Linked DNA regions of Homo sapiens: region 1 is linked to region 2. The links are contacts of gene promoters, found by promoter capture Hi-C in human tissues and cell types (Jung and others, 2019). All regions are on one chromosome and are shown on one strand. The core of a region is centred on a gene start or on the middle of the fragment in contact, and the rest is flanking DNA. Distances in the headings are between cores, read along the strand shown.

Region 1 (4,642 bases), core at 347-2,846, 230 kb before region 2:
TTTCATTGGCTGGAATTCCCAATATTATGTTGAATAAGAATGGTGAGAGTGGACATCTTTTCTTTTTTTTTTTTTTTTTTTTTTGAGACGGTGTCTTGCTCTGTCGCCCAGGCTGGAGTGCAGTGGCGTGATCTCGGCTTACTGCAAGCTCTGCCTCCCGGGCTCATGCCATTCTCCTGCCTCAGCCTCCCGAGTAGCTGGGACTACAGGCGCCTGCCGCCACGCCCGGCTAATTTTTTGTATTTTTAGTAGAGACGGAGTTTCACCCTGTTAGCCAGGATGGTCTCGATCTCCTGACCTCATGATCCGCCCGCCTCAGCCTCCCAGAGCGCTGGGATTATAGGCGTGAGCCACCACGCCCGACCCTGAGAGTGGACATCTTTGCCTTGTTCCTGATGTTAGAGGAAAACATTCGGTCTTTTTCCACTAAGTGTAATGTTAGCTGTAGGTTTGTTTTTTGTTTGTTTGTTTTTTGAGATGGAGTCTTGCTCTGTCACCCAGGCTATAGTGCAGTGGCACGATCTCAGCTCACTGCAACCTCTGCCTCCCGTGTTCAAGTGATTCTCCAGCCGCAGGCTCCTGAGTAGCTGGGATTACAGGTGTGTGCCACCACGCCCGGCTAATTTTTGTATTTTTAGTAGAGACGGGGTTTCACCATGTTGGTCAGGCTGGTCTCAAACTCCTGACCTCGTGATCTGCTCGCCTCGGCCTCCCAAAGTGCTGGGATTACAGGCGTGAGCCACTGTGCCCGGCCTTTAGCTGTAAGCTTTTTGCAGGTTTTAAAAAATCAAATTGAGGAAATTATTCTCTTATTCCTAGTTTTCTGAGAGTATTTTTTAAAAATCATAACTGGATTTTGAATTTTGTAAATTTTTTTCTGTATAAATTGACATAATCATGTAATTTTTCTTCTTTAGCCTATTAATCTGGTAGATTACATTGGTTGATTTAAAAATATCGAACCAGCCTTGAATCCCTAGAAAAAAATCCCACTGGTCATGGCAGGGCAAGGGGCAAGACCTTTTCCCAGGTAAGATTTGTCTCGTGGCGAACTTTAGAAAGCAACTCCTCGATGTCTTATGTATTCTTTCAGTCTTTCCAGAAGATTGGGGTCTCCAAGACAAATGCAGTTTCTAATTGACACTCAGAAGCTGCCATACTTCCTGGGTTATTTGGGCTATAAAAGCGGCTTCATGGCCGGGCGCAGTGGCTCACGCCTGTAATCCCAGCACTTTGGGAGGCCGAGGCGGGTGATCATGAGGTCAGGAGTTTGAGACAAGCCTGGCCAACCTAGTAAAACCCTGTCTCTGCTAAAAATACAAAAATTAGCCAGGTGTGGTGTCACGCACCTGTAGTCCCAGCTACTTGGGAGGCTGAGGTGGGAGAATCGCTTGAACCCAGGAGGTGGAAGTTGCAGTGAGCCAAGACTGCGCCATTGCACTCCAGCCTGGGTGACAGAGTGAGACTCCGTCTCAAAACAACAACAACAAGAAAAGTGGCTTCATGCTGGGTGTGGTGGCTCACACCTGTAATCCCAGCACTTTTGGTGGCCAAGGCGGGTGGATTGTTTGAGCTCAGGAGTTTGAGACCAGTCTGGGCAACATGGCAAGACCCTGTCTCTACAAAAAATACAAAAATTATCCAGGTGTGGTGGTGCGTGACTGTAGTTCCAGCAACTAGGGAGGTTGAGGTGGAAGGGTCCCCTGAGCCGGGGAGGTTGAGGTTGTAGTGAGCTGTGATTGCAGCACTGCAGTGCAGCCTGGATGACAGAGTGAAACTCTGTTAAAAAAAAAAAAAAGTGGCTTCATTGTCACTATGGAGAGTTTGTGGGAATCCATATGGAGGAATTATTTCCTTCATTAGAGCCTTTACAACTTCGGCAGGTTTTTCAGTTCTGCTGAGTTAAACCTCAACCCAGCTGGCCCTCCCGACTCCTTGTTCCATGAAATTGCTTCCCTCGGTGAAGAATTCTTGGTTGGGTTCTGTTAATGGCAAATCTGTGGGGCCCAGTCTGCTGGAGTAAACTTGATCAATTATTTGAATGCAATCCTCAACAGGAGGCTGGAGGTTCCTTGGTAGCCGGGTGGCAGGATTAGGAGTAGAAATAACTTTAAGAGTTATATTTGGTTTATCTAGAAGCATGGTTTGGTGCTTTTCCAGCCCTGGCAGTCCACAATAGCCCCCTTCTGCTTGGGCAGGGGAAACACATAATGCATAGTATGTACCTTCATGGGCTGCTGAAAGGTGAACTTCTCAGCTTCCTGCAATATATCACAGGTGGCAGCCACTGCCCTTAGGCAGGTAGGCCAGCCCTTAGTTACCTTGTCAAGCTGTTTTATAAAGTAGGCCATGGGACATTTTAAGGTCCCAAGGTCTTGAGTTAATTCTCCAAGTCCAATTCCCTGTTTTTCTTGAACAAATAAATCAAAAGGTTGGTGTAGGTCAGGGAGACTCAGGGCAGGGGCTGTCATCAATTTCTCTTTAATGGTTAGAAAGGCATTTTGGCATTCTCTACTCCAAGAAAGGGGTTCCCTTTCTTCTTCTTTTAAAGTCTCCTAGAGAGGTTTGGCTATTAACCTGAAGTTAGGGATCTAAATTTGACAAAATCCAGGCATCCCTAAAGGACCACGTAGTTGTTTAAGGATACTGGAGACTGCCACCTGATTTATTGCCTCTGTGATCTGGGAGAAGATTGTGAGTCCCTTGAATCCCAGGTACTGAATGGTGGGATGAGAGATCTATGCCTCTTTCTTAGAAACCTTGTACCCTTTATCTGCCAGGAAATTTAAGACTTTGATGGCATGGAGGATGGAGTTACCCTCCATTTCACTGGCTATCAAGATATCATCTGCGTATTACAAAATAGTTCACATTAATTAACATGGAATTCTTAGGACTGTCGGATCTACATCTGTATATTTGTTTTCTTTTCTTTCTTTCTTTTCTTTTTCTTTTTCTTTTTTTTTTTTTTTGAGACAGAGTCTCGTTCTGTCACCCAGGCTGGAGTGCAGTGGTGCGATCTCGGCTCACTGCAACCTCTGCCTTCTGGGTTCAAGAGATTCTCCTGCCACAGCCTCCTGAGTAGCTAGGACTGCAGGCGTGCACCACCATGCCCAGCTAATTTTTTGTATTTTTAGTAGAGACGGGGTTTCACCATGCTGGCCAGGTTTGTCTCGAACTCCTGACCTCAAGCAATCCACCTGCCTTGACCTCCCTAAGTGCTGGGATTACAGGTGTGAGCCTCTGTGCCCGGCCTACATCTGTATATTTCTGATAAGCCTCCAAAATTCTTTCCAAAATGCTAATGGGTTCTCATCCACTTCTTGTCTAGATATAGTCATGGGAAATCAAAATTTGACCTCCCCCCAAAAAATAATAATAAAACAAAATTCAACCCCAGAATGCAGCCTGCTTGAGTAAATTATTCAAAATTGATAAATTATATCTTACAACTAGTTTCATTTTGCTATCAAATGGGAAAGTAGGATGAAATCCCTGATGTCTAAGCTTTTATACTCCTTTATCAGAACAAACCAATCAAGTTAAATGTAAAATTCTGATGCAATGGATGGAGGCTTTTAAGAAGGGTGGTGAGTCTGCACTTTTCCCTATGATCCCCATGTCACCAGCAAAGAAGAATTCTCCTTAGAGCCTACTACAACTTCTATAACCCCAGCCCAGCCATCTCAGCACTCTCCACCAGCTGCCTTGGGGTCAGCTTCAGCCTCTTTGATGGCCCCAACCCCTGAGACTTCCAAACCCTGCAAAACCCTTTCCTGACTCCTGCTAGCCCTCTCACTTATGGACCCAGGACCCGTACCTGAGTTCTGCCAGGTCTTCCCCCATATTTTCCTTTGCTCTCTCCTTTCACCAAGGAGACATCTGGGAACTCCAGAGAAATGGTCTCATCCTCTTGGACCCATCAGGGGACACAATTTGGCTGGGTTCTGCTACCCTTCTCTACAGGGCAGTTCCCTCTGAGACAGGTCCCTGTTGGGGGTTTAGCTGAAGAAGGACAGCCCGCTGGAATGATGCAAACTTACATAATTGTAAGCAGACCAAACCTGCTTATAGGGATGACCTGAAATGTATAACTAACCTCTTTGAGTCTATTTTCATGACTCATGGCCCTACATGGGCTGATGTTCAGAGCCTCCTTAAAGTCTTGCTGACATCTGAAGAGTGTCATACAGTGCTAGAAAAGGCTCAGGAAAAGGCTGATCGGTTACACACAGAAGATCCTAATAATGGGGTGAGGACTGGTTACAGTCTGGCAGTGCCCCTCCATGACCCCAGCTGGAAGCTGATCAACAGGGGTTCTGGACTGTTTTCTGGTGGGGCTCAGGAAGGGAGTCCCTCAAACCAAAAGTTTAAAGAAGGTGCAGGAAATAGACACACACGTACACACATGCGCACGTGCGCGCACACACACACACACACACACACACACACAAACACTTATCAAAATACAATCTAGGCCGGGTGTGGTGGCTCATGCCTATAATCTCAGCACTTTGGGAGGCCAAGGCAGGTGGATTACTTGAGGTCAGGAGTTCGAGACCAGTCTGGCCAACATGGCGAAACCCTGTCTCTATTAAAAATACAAAAATTAGCTGGGTATGGTGGTGCATGCCTGTGGTCC
Region 2 (4,798 bases), core at 1,722-4,221:
GAAGGCTGGAGCTGGGGATTTCCTGGGGACTTAACCGGCAGGACAGCCCTTTACGGGCTGAGGAGACAAGGAAGGAGGAAGGGAAGGAAGTGGTAGCCATGTGGCTCTGGGTTCTGGGAGCCAGAGGGGCCACCCTCCTACTGCTCCACGGCCCAGTCCTGTCTCCACAGACTGTGTCACCCTCAGGAGGACCCTGGTGTCTCCCAAATGTGCACAGGCAGCACCGCCCCCCAAATGTGCACAGGCAGCACCGTCCATCCCTGGCTTTGAAGGGGGACTTCTCCCACCCATCATCTGGTCTGATCCTCACAAACACCCCAGGAGACAGGCAGGACAGGCGCTGTCATCACTCTCACTAGACGGGGGAGGAAAACGAGGCTCAAAGAGGGGAAGTAGGGCGTAGACGATGGACTCTACAAGATATTTAGCCAGGCCATTTTACACCCAGAGAAACTGAGGCCCCCACAGGGAAGGGACCTGGCCCAGGGTCCCATAGTAAATGAGAAGCAGGCCCTCTGACCTCCACCTCACACCATCTCCCCATCCATTCGGCCAGCTCCTTATTAACCACTGATGGACTAACTTCCTAGTGTCCAGGGGGCAAACGGAACAAGAGCCTGAGGCAAGCATTGGGGTGCCTGCTGCAGCCCTCCTCCCACCCTGCTGTGGCTTCCCTTCCCCACCCTGCCCCCAAGTGGCAGTCCAAGTAGCCATACCCTCCTGTGACGTCAGCGCCCACCAGCCCTGTGTCCAGGGCCAGGGTCCAGGCTGGCCACAGCCCACCAGATTCCAACCAGCCTCTGCCAGGGCGATGGCTGGACAGATGTGGCCCTTCCATCTACCCCAGAGTAATTAAAAACACACCCAGGCCTCTTCCAACGAGAGAGGGGCCAATTTTCTTCCCCTCCAGCACCGCTGACTGCAACCTAAATAGCAATATTTATGCCAAGCTCCCCATAATACTGTAAACATCCCAATGTATAGCGGGCCAACGCATGAGTCATTTCCCCAAAGCCAGAGTTAATAAGTGGTACCTCAGCCATATTCCACAGAGCTCCCGCCAGCAGCCAGGCCCCAGGGCTGCCCTCCACACCCAGGGCCCGTGGCACCCTAGGTGCCCCAGTGGCCCCACTCCGGGAAACCGCAGTCAGCCGCCAAATCCCCCAGGAGCCGAAGGACAGCTGCCTCAGTGCCAGAAACTGTGGCTGCCATCCAGGGACACCCCCCACCCCCTGACTGCGGTCACTAAAGTGCTCATTACCGAAAGAGAAACTGAAGTTGTAGCACAGGGTCCCCCACGACGCCTTTCCCAGAGGCCGCAGCCCCCACGTCTGGTCTGATATGCGTTTTTTCTTAGGCTGCAAGAAGGGAAGGGGCGCCCCACAACCCTAAAGTGGCCTGAGAGGTGCACACAGACATCATCCCTAAGCCCAAGGGAGCAGAACCCTGGAAGGGCTCACGCAGTTTAGGGGCAACAAAACCCAGCTAAGTGAGTGCTGGTTTCAAAGAAAGACCACAGACCTGGGTTCTATTTTTGTCACCCAACGGCCCTGGGTGAGACATCGGACTTTTCAGAACCTCGGTTTCCCTATCTGTTCAAGAGAAGTAGGAATCATACCTACCTGTCTTCCCCGGAAGGTGTATTTTGAGGGATCCAACACGCTGGTGGGCGGGAAAGCACTTTGTAAAGCTTAAAGTACCTTGTCAACTGTGCAGCACGTTGTAAACCACAGAGAGCTGCGTATAGTGCGAAGTACTTCATAAACTGTAAAGTGGTTTGAAAACTGTAAAGTGCAGTACACGTGAGAACCATTATTCACGTTCGCTTCTTGCCCTGCAAGCTCGGCCATTCCTGGTGGACACACCCAGACCGCACTAACTTTCCCTCCAGAGCAAGCTGGCTCGGGAGACCTAGCAACTACCCTTGCCCCCCTGGGGGTCGAGTGGTACCAATACACGAGGCCACGGGGAGAGGGCCCGCGACCCTGGCCAAGGCCAACACATGGCAAGAGCATCTGGTCCGGCCCCGGCGGCAGCTGGAGAGTTCCCGGGGCTCCAGCCGCCACGCTGAGCGCCGCGGCCGCGGGGCGGTGGCCGGCGGGGGTGCCCGGAGACCTTGCGCGGCGGAGAGATGCCCACAGACCCATCCCCCGCGCAGTCCTCTCGGGGAGGGGACCCCATTGTACGCCGCGGGCGATGGGCAGGCACCGACGCGGGGGCTGGCGCGCTCCCTTCCACTCTGCCAGTCCCTGCTCTCCGGGGCGCCGGGCCCCATCTCGGGGGCGCGGGCCGGGAGCCCCCACCCCGGCCGGCCGCGGTGCCTCCCTCCCTCTGCTCCCTGCCAAACTTTCCAGCCCCGACCGAGCGCCGGCGCCCCCCCCGCCCCCCGCCACGGCCGGGCCCGCGCCCCTCCACCCTGTGCGGAGCAAGACCAGGCCGGCGCGAGGCGGCTGCCCGAGCCGGGGGCGGCGAGCGCGCGTGGGCAGCCCCCAGCCCTGGGCGGCGCTCGCCGGGCTGGCTACAAAGCCTCGGCAAGATGGTCCCTTCGCCTCCTCCTGGCACAGTCAATCAGCGCCCGCCGCTCCCCGGGCGCCCGCGGGGCCCGCTCCTCCCGGCGCGGCCGGACACACCTCCCCGCGGCCACCTGCGCCCGGCGCCGGCCCCCGGGCAAACTTTGCGGGCCGCGGAGCGGAGGTGGGCGCCGGCGGCCGCCCGTGCCCGGCCGCTCCCCGCCCCCATCGCCCGCCCGCCCGCCCGCTCGCTCACCTTCCACGGCGGCGAGCAGCGGCAGCAGCAGCAGCGCGGCCCCCAGCCTCCGCAGAGCCATGGCTGCGCTTCCCGGGGCCTCGGGCCGCGGCGCCGCGGGGCCCGGACGGCCCGGGCGGGAGCGCGCGCCCCGGGCTCGGGGGGCCAGGGGGGGCGGCAAGGCGCGGCGCACACACAGCCGCCGCCACCGCGCAGCCAGCAGAATGAGCCATCCAGCCCGGGCAGAACGGGGACCCGGGCTCCGCCAGCGCTGGGCACGGCCCACCTGAGCCGCGGGCGCGGGGGGAGCCTCGCCAGGCCACCGCCCCCCGCGCGCGTCCCGGCCCCCGGCGGCCGCGCGCCGCCGCGAGCCCGGGTCCCCACACCGCGCCCGTAGGGTCACCCGGGGGCAGCGCGGGCGCTGGAGCGCGGCGACCCCGCGTGCCCGGGCCACTGAGACCCCGGGCTCCCCCCGCGCAGCAGTGGTCTCTCCCGGCGCTGTGGCTCCTCCAGATAAAGCAGCGATTTCAGCCCAAATGTTTCTCAATTTTTATTGAATGCTGCAAAGCCGGAGAGCGTCTGGCGCGGCTGACAGGGGCAGGGAGAGCGGACGGAGGGGAGGGCGGGGGAAGGGGCTTCCCAAAGCGGGGGCCGGCACTACCTGTCAGGGCAGGGAGTCCCACCCCCTCGCCTCAGCCCTGCCACCCGGGTCCCTGCGGCTTCGAAAGGGACCGAACTGCAATGAATGGAAAAAAAAAAAAAAGGGTGTGTGTGGGGGGGTGGCATCTGGGAACAAAACAGGCGGCTTTCCCAGGCACCGGGGCTGGGCCGGGGCCTCCGAGTGGGAGACTGGGCCTTGGCGCTACCCGAGGGCCTGGGGTGGGGCTGGGGGGAGGGTGGTCACTCGGCACTGGTGGGCTGGGCCCTTGCAGGCAGACCCCAGGCCTCCCCTCCCTGCCCCGTTGTTCTGAGCTGGCCCGCGAGCCCCTCACTGCAGACTCGTCTATGTCTGTATTAGATTTCTCCTTCTCTGTTGATCTTGCTCCCAGTGCAGTTTGGGGATGGGGTGAAGGAAGTCCATGGGTGAATCTGGGGAAAGCCCCAGCCACCCCCACGCTGTGGAATGGACCTGTCTGTGCAGCCGTGGTTTTGTGCATGGCCGTCCCTTCAGGGAGAACACAACCCTAGCCCCAACCCTGTGGGCCCTGCCCTGCTCTGACAGCCTTCATCACCATCATCATTAACAGACTTTACTGAAGTCTGGATGGTGGGCGGCTGCAGGGGGCCTGCGGCAATCACCCAGGCTGAACCCCTGGCAGTTGGGAGCCCACTCCTGACTGAGGAGACTTCATCAGGAGCTCGGAACTCTGTGGAGTGAGTGGAGGAGCCCAGTGCAGGAGCAGGTGGTTTAAGTCGAAGGCAGTTTAAGTCTATGCTACCCACATCTCCTGTGTCCCTTTGTCCCACATACTATCAAAATGTCCCAGCAATCCCTCCCCTTCAGTCCATACCAAGAAAATGGGGTACCACAGGCTTTGGGAATCCATCTAAGGTTTGGAAAGTTGGGTCGTCTCTTGAAGCTCCAAGAGTCCAGTTGAAATGGGTGTCATCCTGGAAGGCCACCAGGAGGAGGCAGCCTGGGAGGGAGACAGAACAGGAGTGAGCAGGGAGAGAAGAGAAACAGGAGATTTCCCCCTATTAAGCCTACAGACCCCTCACCAGGGTCAAGAGCCAGTGGGGTGGGGCTGGCAGAGCCACTACCGTTCCTATTTGAGTGAGCAGGGAGAGAGGAGAAACGAAGATTCCCCCTTTTAAGTCTACAGACCCCTCACCAGGGTCAAGATCCACTGGGGTGGGGCTAGCCTTTATTTTCAGTTCTTGCCTGTCAGACCTTCCAGGAGACCCAGGGTTTGAGGGACCCCAAGCTTGGCCCATCTTGAGGCAATCCTCCCTCTCCTGGACAGAGCAGCTCTAAGCTCTGGCCCCCTCCAGTGCATCCAGGTGCTAGACACTTCCAAATTCAAGAAGTCATTATTGAGCACCTATTATGTAC

Evidence for each region. The method cuts DNA at HindIII sites, captures the fragments that hold promoters and counts their contacts. A contact is called where the count stands out against the background at its distance.
Region 1: a contact is called between a fragment that was not itself captured here and the fragment with the promoter of EPHB2 in region 2, in 3 of the 25 tissues and cell types used here (IMR-90 fibroblasts, dorsolateral prefrontal cortex and mesenchymal stem cells).

Annotation. Positions count from the first base shown.
Region 1 is chr1:22,942,185-22,946,826 of GRCh38, reverse strand. No RefSeq gene overlaps it. Among named protein-coding and RNA genes, the nearest start is that of LACTBL1, 28 kb to the left of the region's middle. The HindIII fragment of the contact is 5,786 bases long and covers 1-4,489 here.
Region 2 is chr1:22,709,012-22,713,809 of GRCh38, reverse strand. EPHB2 (EPH receptor B2) reads right to left here and starts at 2,971. Exons shown (of 16, transcript NM_017449.5): 1 at 2,767-2,971. The coding sequence starts at 2,827. RefSeq lists an enhancer at 1,678-1,777 and a silencer at 3,999-4,284. The HindIII fragment of the contact is 4,397 bases long and covers 817-4,798 here.